3 separate regions of the Homo sapiens genome follow, and regions 1 and 2 are each linked to region 3. The links are contacts of gene promoters, found by promoter capture Hi-C in blood cells and fetal thymus (Javierre and others, 2016). All regions are on one chromosome and are shown on one strand. Each heading gives the region's core, a stretch centred on a gene start or on the middle of the fragment in contact. The rest is flanking DNA. Distances are from core to core; before and after follow the strand shown.

Region 1 (3,213 bases), core at 251-2,750, 650 kb after region 3:
TGAGGTGGGCGGATCACCTGAGGTCAGGAGTTCAAGACCAGCCTGACCAACATGGTGAAACTCCGTCTCTACTAAAAATACAAAAACCAGCTGGGTGTGGTGGGAGGTGCCTGTAATCCTAGCTACTCAGGAGGGTGAGGCAGGAGAATTGCTTGAACCCGGGAGGTGGAGGTTGCGGTGAGCTGAGATTGCACCATTGCACTCCAGCCTGGGCAACAAGAGTGAAACTCCATCTCAAAAAAAAAAAAAAAAAAAAATGGGCGTCTCACTCTGTCATCCAGGCTAGAGTGCAGTGGCACCACCACAGCTCACAGCTACCTCGACCTCCTGGGCTCAAGCGATCCTCACACCTCAGCCTCCTGAATAGCTGGGACTACAGGTGTGTGCCGCCACACCTGGCTATTTTTGTATTTTTTGTGGAGATGAGGTTTTCACCATGTTGCCCAGGGTGGTCTCAAACTCCTGGGCTCAAGCAATCCTCCTGCCTTGGCTTCCTAAAGTGCTGGGAATATAGGTGTGAGCCACTGCACCTAGCTGGGTGATTATTAATAATCATGATTGTTAATTATGTTCATGATTACAGGCGCGGTGGCTCACGCCTGTACTCCCAGCACTTTGGGAGGCCGAGGTGGGCGAATCACCTGAGGTCAGGAGTTCAAGACCTGCCTGACTAACATGGAGAAACCTCATCTCTACCAAAAATACAAAATTAGCTGGGTGTGGTGGTGCGTGCCTGTAATCCCAGCTACTCGGGGGGCTGAGGCAGGAGAATTGCTTGAACCCGGGAGGCGGAGGTTGCAGTGAGCTGAGATCGTGCCATTGCATTCCAGCCTGGGCAACAAGAGCGAAACTCCGTCTCAAAAAAAAAAAAAAAATTATGTTCATGGGAAAGCACTTTTCCTAACAAGCCCTTTTCTCACTACATGTAGCGTTTGTGCTCCCACTTCAGTTACTTGTCTTTAGGCATGACCTTTAATCTCTCTGAACCAGTTTCCTCATTTTAAGAATTGAAATGCTGGCTGGGCCAGTGGCTCACGCCTGTAATCCCAGCACTTTGGGAGGCCAAGGCGAGATGACTGCTTGAGTCCAGGAGTTCGAGACTAGCCTGGGCAACATAGTGAGGCCACCTCCCCGCTGTCTCTATAAAAAAATCTAGAAATTAGTCCCACGTGGTGATGTGCGCCTGTAGTCCCAGCTGCTTGGGAGGCTGAGGTGGGGGGATCGCTGAAGCCGGGAGGTCAAGGCTGCAGTGACCCGTGGTCATGCCGCTGCACTCTAGTCTGGGGACACAGTGAGACCCCGTATCAAAAAGAAAAATGCTGCCTATTTCAAGGTTGTAGCAAAGCTAAGTTTGAACAGAGCAAAGGAAGCGCCATAGAAGCTGCACTACTTGCTCATGTCACAGCTGGGGAATGGGGTGGTCGAATGGGGAGGTCCACTGTCGCAATGTTCCAATTCCCGCCCAGAGGGAGGGACCTCCCCTTCGAGGGAGGGCGCCGGAAGTGACGCGAGGCTCTGCGGAGACCAGGAGTCAGACTGTAGGACGACCTCGGGTCCCACGTGTCCCCGGTACTCGCCGGCCGGAGCCCCCGGCTTCCCGGGGCCGGGGGACCTTAGCGGCACCCACACACAGCCTACTTTCCAAGCGGAGCCATGTCTGGTAACGGCAATGCGGCTGCAACGGCGGTGAGTGCTGAGCCGGTGACCAGCACACTTTGGGCTTCTGGACGAGCCGTGCAGCGATTGGCCCCAGGTTGCCATCCTCAGTCGTCTATTGGTCAGAACGGCTATCTTTTTTTTTTTTTTTTTTTTTTTTTTTTTGGTCCGAGTAGCTTTTAAAGGGCCAGTAGCTCGGTTGCCCTCCGGAAGGAATGGGGAAATCAGAGAGCGGTGATACTGGGTTAAGAGTGGAAGGATTGTTTGGAACGGAACTCCGGTCCCTGCGGGCATCTGGGTGGGATTCCCATCAGGCCTGGGATGCACGGCTCTAGATTTAGTGACCCAGACCAAGAACGTTCGTCTACACAGACGGGGTCCTTTCATTCGAGGCTGGGCTGAGGCGGATGCAGATACGGCCCCTTTGGGAAGACACGTTCCACTTTTGATTCATAGGAGAGAGTATCAGCCAAGCCTCCGAACTGCACACAAACGTCTTAGAAGTGCGCCTTCTTTTTGTGTTATAGTGGTCTCCCAGCCACAGCCAACGCTCCAAGTCCCCAGCTGTGACACACCTACTGAATTACTACCGTGGGTGGGAGGCCGCCGTGGGCCTTTCCATTACGAGCCTGCTTGCCGAGCCCTGGGCTTGTGCACAGACAAACTGCAGAGCTGGTGGAGGCCACTGCCAGGCCGAGATAAGAAAGAGATGGGGAGCTGCTAATCTCCCCCTGTCCAGCCTGTTGGTGAGGGCTGGGATCTTTGCTCTTGCAGTCATTCCAGAGCCCTGGACTAGGAGTAGGAAGATCTGAATTGTGGCCCCAACTCTCTTTCGGTTATTAGCTCTGTGACCCTAGGCAAGTCACCTCATCCCTTGATGCCACCCGTTGCTTCTGTAACATGGTCCCAAAGGTGCCTGTCTTGTCCACCTGATAGGATTTTTGAGACGACAACAATATGCAAAAGCAATAGCTTCAACATAGAAGTGCTCAGTGTTTTATTTTTTAATGAAACGGTTTGACTTGGATATGCTGTGCACATTCAATGAACTTAAGGAATTGTTTGAACCTAGTAGTTCTGGGACCTTAGAGTCCTTTCTGTGGGCTCCCTGTGGCCCAGAATTTTGGTGGCCACGTTTAATATCAAGCCTAGCCTAATTTGCAAAGGGTCTCCCAGGGTTAATTTATTGGAGTGATCACATGGAGTAGACCAGAGTCTGAGGGCAGAAAGCTGTCACCTGCTTCGGCAATAGAGGCCCCAGATGTCTGGGTGCAAAAGAACTCCATAGCACCCCGACCAACATGGTGAAACCCCGTCTCTACTAAAAATATAAAAATTAGGCCGGGCACAGTGGCTCATGCCTGTAATCCTAGCACTTTGGGAGGCCGAGGCAGGTGGATTGCCTGAGCTCAGGAGTTCGAGACCAGCCTAGGGAACACAGTGAAACCCCGTTTCTACTAAAAATACAAAAAATTAGCCGACGTGGTGGCATGCGCCTGTAGTCCCAGCTACTTGGGAGGCTAAGACAGGAGAATCGCTTGAACCTGGGAGGTGGAG
Region 2 (3,092 bases), core at 1-2,500, 590 kb after region 3:
CGGAAGGAGGCATGCCTGTGAGCCAGGCCAGCACCCTGTGTCCCCAGGATTTCTGCCTTTACCTCCTCTATCATGTCTGCTTGCCTGTGAAACCAGCTTTGATTAAAGGTTCAACCTAATTACTTTTGTCTGCCTGAGCCCAGGGGAGGCAGGGGTGGGATGAGCAGAGATGCCCTCTCTAGCCCTGCTCCCTCAGTCACAGAACCTTCTCATTCATTCACGGAAGGTTTATTAACTTACTAGTTGACAGGCACTGCACTTGGCACTATTAGTTTCTACACCCACTCACCACCACCGCACCAAAACACAAAGTCAGACACATACCCCGGCTACCCCACTTCTAAGCCTTCTAGAGAGGGCCTCAATCCGTGGAACTCTCAATACTTAGCACATAATAGATTTAATTGTTTCCTACAGTTGCCCCTTGTAATTCTGTGCAAGGGGGACCTCCCCAGTTCAGGTCCCACGGTGTCACACAGAAAGCCCCGCTAAGGGCTGAGGTCCTGATGGGGCCCCACAGAGCTACCTCTGGGTCCCCATTACCCTGCGACGTCAGTCTGGGCTTCCTTCGGGCTAGCTGGGGGCTGCAGGGTCTGGTTTCCAACCTGTGGGACGTTGGCAGGGGCCGCAAGCAGAGGGACTGGGCAGCTCGTGGGCGGGAAGGTGCCCCGGCGGGCTTCGGGCTGCAGGGCACAACCGTCCCGCCCAGGGCCCCGGCAACATGCCCCGGCTTTTCCGCTCAATTGGGAAAGCAACTGGAGCAGAAGGCGTAGGCGCACGCGGAGCGGGCGACCGCACGTATTCTCCCGGAGGCCCCGCGCTTCTGGCACCCAGAGGCTCAGCCTGGTAGGGGAGGGCCAGGCGGCGGGCGGGAGAGGAGGAGAGGCGGCGGGCGGCGAAGAGGCGGCGGGCTCGTGGCACCTGCCCAGCCCCGTGGGTCCTCACGCTACCCAGGACACGCTACTGTGCGGCTGGGAACCACGGGGGCCGGGGGTGCAGGAGCTGGAGAGGTGCGGAGACCACAGGACTGGCGCGATAGAAAGGGGTCTCGTGCTGGTGGTCAGGGACAGCGCCTCGGTGGCCCCAAGACCCATGAATTGTCTCTGGAACTGCAGGAACAGCTCCGGGTCGTATCGGAAGTTGGGGTTCGCCAACAATGGCTCCCCAAGACCTGAGATCCCCGCCCTCAGGTGACTCCCCTCCCCCGCATACCGCCTCCTACCTGAACAGAGGCGGGAGCCCGAATAGGACGGGGCGGGGCTAGCGAAGGCTGCGCAAGCGCGGCCGGCGGGGGCGTGGTCTTCGCCTGCTGCTTCGCTTGCCGGCCAGTGGAGTTCCCCGCCCCACATGCCGGGGACGTCGACTTACTCCCTCCCGCTGGTCACGCTGCTCCTTGGACGAACGAGCATAGCGCCCCTTAGGGGCTGGGCACGGCATGTCCAATTCTTAAGTGGTTGCATTCAACAAACCAGTTTTTAGTGAGTGCCCTCCTCTACAAAACACACCGAACACTAAGGTGATAATCATTGTTCCCAAGTTGCTCACAGTCTGGGAAAGGTGTTGTAGGAACACACAGTATTTTCTTTTTTTCTTTTTTTTTTTTTTTGAAACAGTCTCGCTCAGTCGCCCAGGCTGGAGTGCAGTGGCGCGATTTCGGCTCACTGCAAGCTCCTCCTCCCGGGTTCACACCATTCTCCTGCCTCAGCCTCCCGAGTAGCTGGGACTACGGGCGCCCACCACCACGCCCGGGTAATTTTTTGTATTTTTAGTAGAGACGGGGTTTCACCGTGTTTGCCAGGATGGTCTCGATCTCCTGACCTCGTGATCCGCTCACCTCGGCCTCCCAAAGTGCTGGGATTACAGGCGTGAGCCACCGCGCCCAGCCCACAATTTGGAATTTTAACTTGTGGTTAGATTGTTGGGGACAGAGACGGGGCCTGGAGTAAATATCAAATTCTAGTCCTAGACCCACAGCATTCTAACTGTATGACCTTGGTTAATCTCTATGAGCTCCCGTTTCCTACCAGCCTGGTAGATCATTGTGAAGACTCAACAGATGATTTAGATAAGAGCTCAGAAATTCTATAAGAGTTCTCAACAACAATGGTTTTCACTGATCCCAGTTAAGAGTTGTGAGGAGTAACAGTAGTGATGCTATTTTACAACAATGATGACTGTGTTCTCAGAAACAGAGCAAATGTTAACCCTGCCCATAGCTTCAACAGAAGGTAACATAGCCTAACAAAGTCCCCAACAGTCCCAATCAGCCAGCACTTCCCGACCTCTCCCCAATAGAAACGATATTATAAAAGCCTCAGCTTGTAAGCGATCAGGGTCTCAGCCAGACTCCTGACTGGAACTCCTTGCAGGCTTATTCCTGTGAATAAACCTGTTTGGCCGTTGAGTTGCCTCCTGTCTCTCGCTCTCTTCCCTTATATCTTCCTAACAAGAGTGGCTGAAGGAATTGTAAGTGTTCCAAAATTGAGAGCAAAGATCTTTTACTCCAGAGAAGATGGTCAGGGAAGGGAGGAGGAGGAGATGAGATAAAATAGGATGACAGGCCGGACGCGATGGCTCATGCTTGTAATCCCAGCACATTGGGAGGCCAAGGCGGGCAGATCACTTGAAGTCAGGAGTTCGAGACCAGCCTGGCCAACATGGTGAAACCCTGTCTCTACTAAAAATACCAAAATTAGCCAGGCTTGGTGGCACACGCCTGTAATCCCAGTTACTGGGGAGGCTGAGGCAGGAGAATTTCTTGGACCTGGGAAGCAGAGGTTGCAGTGAGCCGAGATCGTGCCACTGCACTCCAGCCTGGGTGACAGAGCGAGAGCCTGTCTCAAAAAAAAAAAAAAAAAAATAGGATGACGATGTCACTGAACTTCGTTAATTCAAAATCGGGGAGGAGCCTAGTTTGTACCAGGCACTGTGCTTTCAGCCAGGTAGATCCAAGGACCAGGAAACAGTTCCTCCGAAACCAAACCAGAGCAGATTCTTACTTTACCTAATAGAGGAGTAGGAAGCCATCAGGTTTTTCTCCGCTTTTATTTTTAAGATTTAACATACACATAATAAAATACAAAAAGTGCAGG
Region 3 (3,140 bases), core at 430-2,929:
GGACGAGTTGGGGGAGTTGAGGCTTGCCTGTGTCTCCTCCCTTTCATTGCTCCTCTCCAGCCCCCATCCCATCGTCCGCTCTGCACAAATGTTTCGCCAGTGGAGGGACGTAGGTTTTCAGCACCAGGAGGCTGTGGACCTTCTCTGGAGGCGTGAAGTGCACCCTCCGGAGGGCCAGAGCTGAGTGCAACCTGCTCACAACGACCCTCTCCCTCCTTCCCAAATTCGCCGCCCCAGGCTGTAATATTACATGCAGTGCGCTGTACCGGTGCGGGAGTCCAGGAAGGCTGCATGACCTTCCAGCGAACTCCCCCTCGGCTTGGGGGATGGAGGCTGCCCCGGGGCCTGCAGGCTGTGTATCGATCCCCCAGCCTCAGCCAACGCAAGTTCTCCCGACACAAACCCCTCCCTACCCTCTCGGCTTTCCCAGCCTTGCAGGCGTCTAACGCTATGCTCGAGGCGCCCTCCCCTCTTTCCCGCAATAAAGTAAACCCGGTGGATATTCATTCCCCTCCCTAACTCGCCTCCTTCTTTCCCCCTCCCCCCTCAGCTTACTAACCCCGCGCACAGAGCTCGCCGCCGGCGGGCCCCTTCCACCCAGTGTATCATAATGCCCAACGCTCTCCTCCTCCCCCTCTCTTAATCAGAAACGTGCTCGCGAGCCCCCCTCCCTCTGCGTGCATACATTAGGGTCTGCTTTGCATGCAGCGGCAGGCAGAGACCGGAGGAAGAAGGGGCGGGGGCGCTTTTGCCCGCCTCTTCCCTCCAGGCCCCGTTAGCCACCCAGCTTCAGCTTCGTTGTAACACCGCGTCGTTAGCGGAGCACGCCGTGGCCTCAGTGCCCGGGCTGGAGAAACACAACCCAACTCCCTGCAGAAGGGCACGAAAGCCAGACGAGTGCACAGTAGAGCGAGGAGGTGGCAGGAGACCTGCCACTCGGTGTGTGCTTTTTGGAAAGAGCTCCAGCATGAAAATGGGAGGGGCTCCTTTTTTATTTTTTAAAGTGCGTTCATTGAGGGCCTTTCTGTTTTGCATATAGTAAACTGGGCAGCGCTTCTGTTTTGCATGTAGTACAATAAGGGCTCTTTTATTCTAGAAGCGTTCAATTCGGGCTAACCCATCTTGTATCCGTGCCCTGGGGCGGAGGAGAAGGCTCACTGCTCCCCGACCCAGCCGCCGCGTTATACTGGAAGCTGCTCTCCCGGGCTGTTCGATTCCCAGCGCGTCCCGGGAACGTGTGTAATCGGCCTCTCGGCGCTCAAGGCTGCAGGCGGCCCGGCTCCCTACGCCTCCATCCTCCGCGTAGTCCTCGCCCCCTCCCCCTCTCTCCGGAACCCGCGCTCTGCTCCGGGCTCCCGGGCTTCCTTCCCCCCTCCTTTTCCCGAGCAATGCCTCTCCCGGAGGGCGGGGCATGCAGTTATCCAGGTTGCGGGGCCGGCGGGCGGGCAGGAGGCGGCGGCCCGGGCCTCGGGATGGAGTTGCAGCGCCCAGGCGTCAGAGGCGGAGGCCCGAGGCCGCTATACAGATTGCGGGGCTGGCGGGCGCGGCCCGGCGCTCTGCATAGCGGCCGGCAGGGTGCAGGCGGCCGGGCGGCGCAGAGCTGGTTAGGCAGGTTCCGGGGCCCCGTGCCCCCCCCTCCGCCTCCCCGCCCCCCTGTGTTGTCGCCTCTCCCTCTCGCTGCTTCACTTCACGGGGCGAACATGGCGCACAGCTGTCGGTGGCGCTTCCCCGCCCGACCCGGGACCACCGGGGGCGGCGGCGGCGGGGGGCGCCGGGGCCTAGGGGGCGCCCCGCGGCAACGCGTCCCGGCCCTGCTGCTTCCCCCCGGGCCCCCGGTCGGCGGTGGCGGCCCCGGGGCGCCCCCCTCCCCCCCGGCTGTGGCGGCCGCGGCGGCGGCGGCGGGAAGCAGCGGGGCTGGGGTTCCAGGGGGAGCGGCCGCCGCCTCAGCAGCCTCCTCGTCGTCCGCCTCGTCTTCGTCTTCGTCATCGTCCTCAGCCTCTTCAGGGCCGGCCCTGCTCCGGGTGGGCCCGGGCTTCGACGCGGCGCTGCAGGTCTCGGCCGCCATCGGCACCAACCTGCGCCGGTTCCGGGCCGTGTTTGGGGAGAGCGGCGGGGGAGGCGGCAGCGGAGAGGTAAGGGGGCGAGGAACCCCCAGGTCCGGGGTCTCGACCCTCTGCGGAGCCCCCTCCCCTCCCCCATCCGGGATTGAGGAGCATCCCAATTCTGGGACCATCTCGGGGTCCCTGACCCGGGGCGAATGGCTCTCCCATCTTGGGACCCCCATGCAGGGCTGCAGACCCCCAGGCGCCCCCACCCCGGGGTTTGGGCCCATCTGGCTGAGGGCGTTTGCCCCCCGCTCTCCTCCCCCTGACCCTTCCCCAAATCCCTTGGCACAGACCCCCTCGCCGGGGTTTCCCATCCCGGGACTGAACCCCTCCTCCCTTTCACAGATTACCTCATCCGAGCAAGATTCCTCCCTCCCTCCCTCCTAGAGACCTGATCCCGCCACATCCCCGCCTCCCTCTCTGGGCAGATGTGTTACTCCTAGGGCAGTTTTCCTCTCGGGCGTCTCTCGGGTGATGGCCTCATCCAGGGCCACGTTCTCCTGGCCCTTGGGGATCGTGTCCCTTCCAGCACCTTGCTTTCGAAAACCCGATGAACCCTCGCGCCATCCCCGGGCCAGGTCCCTATACTGCCAGCCACTCCCCCTTCCTTCACCTCCACCCTCTACCCCCACCCCAAGCAGACCGATCCTCCCCCATCCCGCCCTACCCCACCGGGGAAAATCTCTCCTCTGCACCTTGCCTGGTCTCACCTCCTTTCCCTCTGAAGATAACGGTGATTCCTCATACAGCAGTCTCTTCCCCCCCCCGCCCCGTCTTACAGGGCTACAGTTTCTAGCCTATTGGTAGCCGGGAATTACTCTACCTTCACTCCACCCTTTCCCTCCTTTAGAATGAAGGATTAGTGGCATCTTGGAGGGGAAAATAGTCCACTGTCCCCTAGGCTTAGAGAAGAGCAGCTTTCCACCACTCCCCTTGGAGAGGAGGCAGGCTTTCCCTCCAGCTCTGGGGAAGGGGGCCCCTGTGAGGGGAGGTGTTTGTTGGGGGACTGAGGCAGCATCCTCCCAGGGGAAGCAG

The links. The method cuts DNA at HindIII sites, captures the fragments that hold promoters and counts their contacts. A CHiCAGO score of 5 or more calls a contact.
Region 1: a contact is called between the fragment with the promoter of HMBS here and the fragment with the promoter of KMT2A in region 3, in 2 of 17 cell types (non-activated CD4 T cells and activated CD4 T cells). The highest score is 5.7, in non-activated CD4 T cells.
Region 2: the fragment with the promoter of SLC37A4 here is called in contact with the fragment with the promoter of KMT2A in region 3 in 2 of 17 cell types (non-activated CD4 T cells and naive CD4 T cells); the score reaches 5.9 in non-activated CD4 T cells.

Annotation. Positions count from the first base shown.
Region 1 is chr11:119,083,381-119,086,593 of GRCh38, forward strand. It overlaps HMBS (hydroxymethylbilane synthase), which reads left to right and starts at 1,501. Exons shown (of 14, transcript NM_000190.4): 1 at 1,501-1,686. The coding sequence starts at 1,654. RefSeq lists enhancers at 1,102-1,799, 1,729-1,778. The HindIII fragment of the contact is 13,649 bases long and covers 1-3,213 here.
Region 2 is chr11:119,029,627-119,032,718 of GRCh38, forward strand. It overlaps SLC37A4 (solute carrier family 37 member 4), which reads right to left and starts at 1,251. Exons shown (of 10, transcript NM_001467.6): 1 at 1,223-1,251. RefSeq lists a silencer at 706-865. The HindIII fragment of the contact is 18,338 bases long and covers 1-3,092 here.
Region 3 is chr11:118,434,813-118,437,952 of GRCh38, forward strand. It overlaps KMT2A (lysine methyltransferase 2A), which reads left to right and starts at 1,680. Exons shown (of 36, transcript NM_001197104.2): 1 at 1,680-2,132. The coding sequence starts at 1,701. RefSeq lists enhancers at 652-1,649, 849-988, 1,650-2,648, 2,649-3,140 and a silencer at 1,299-1,778. The HindIII fragment of the contact is 8,732 bases long and covers 1-3,140 here.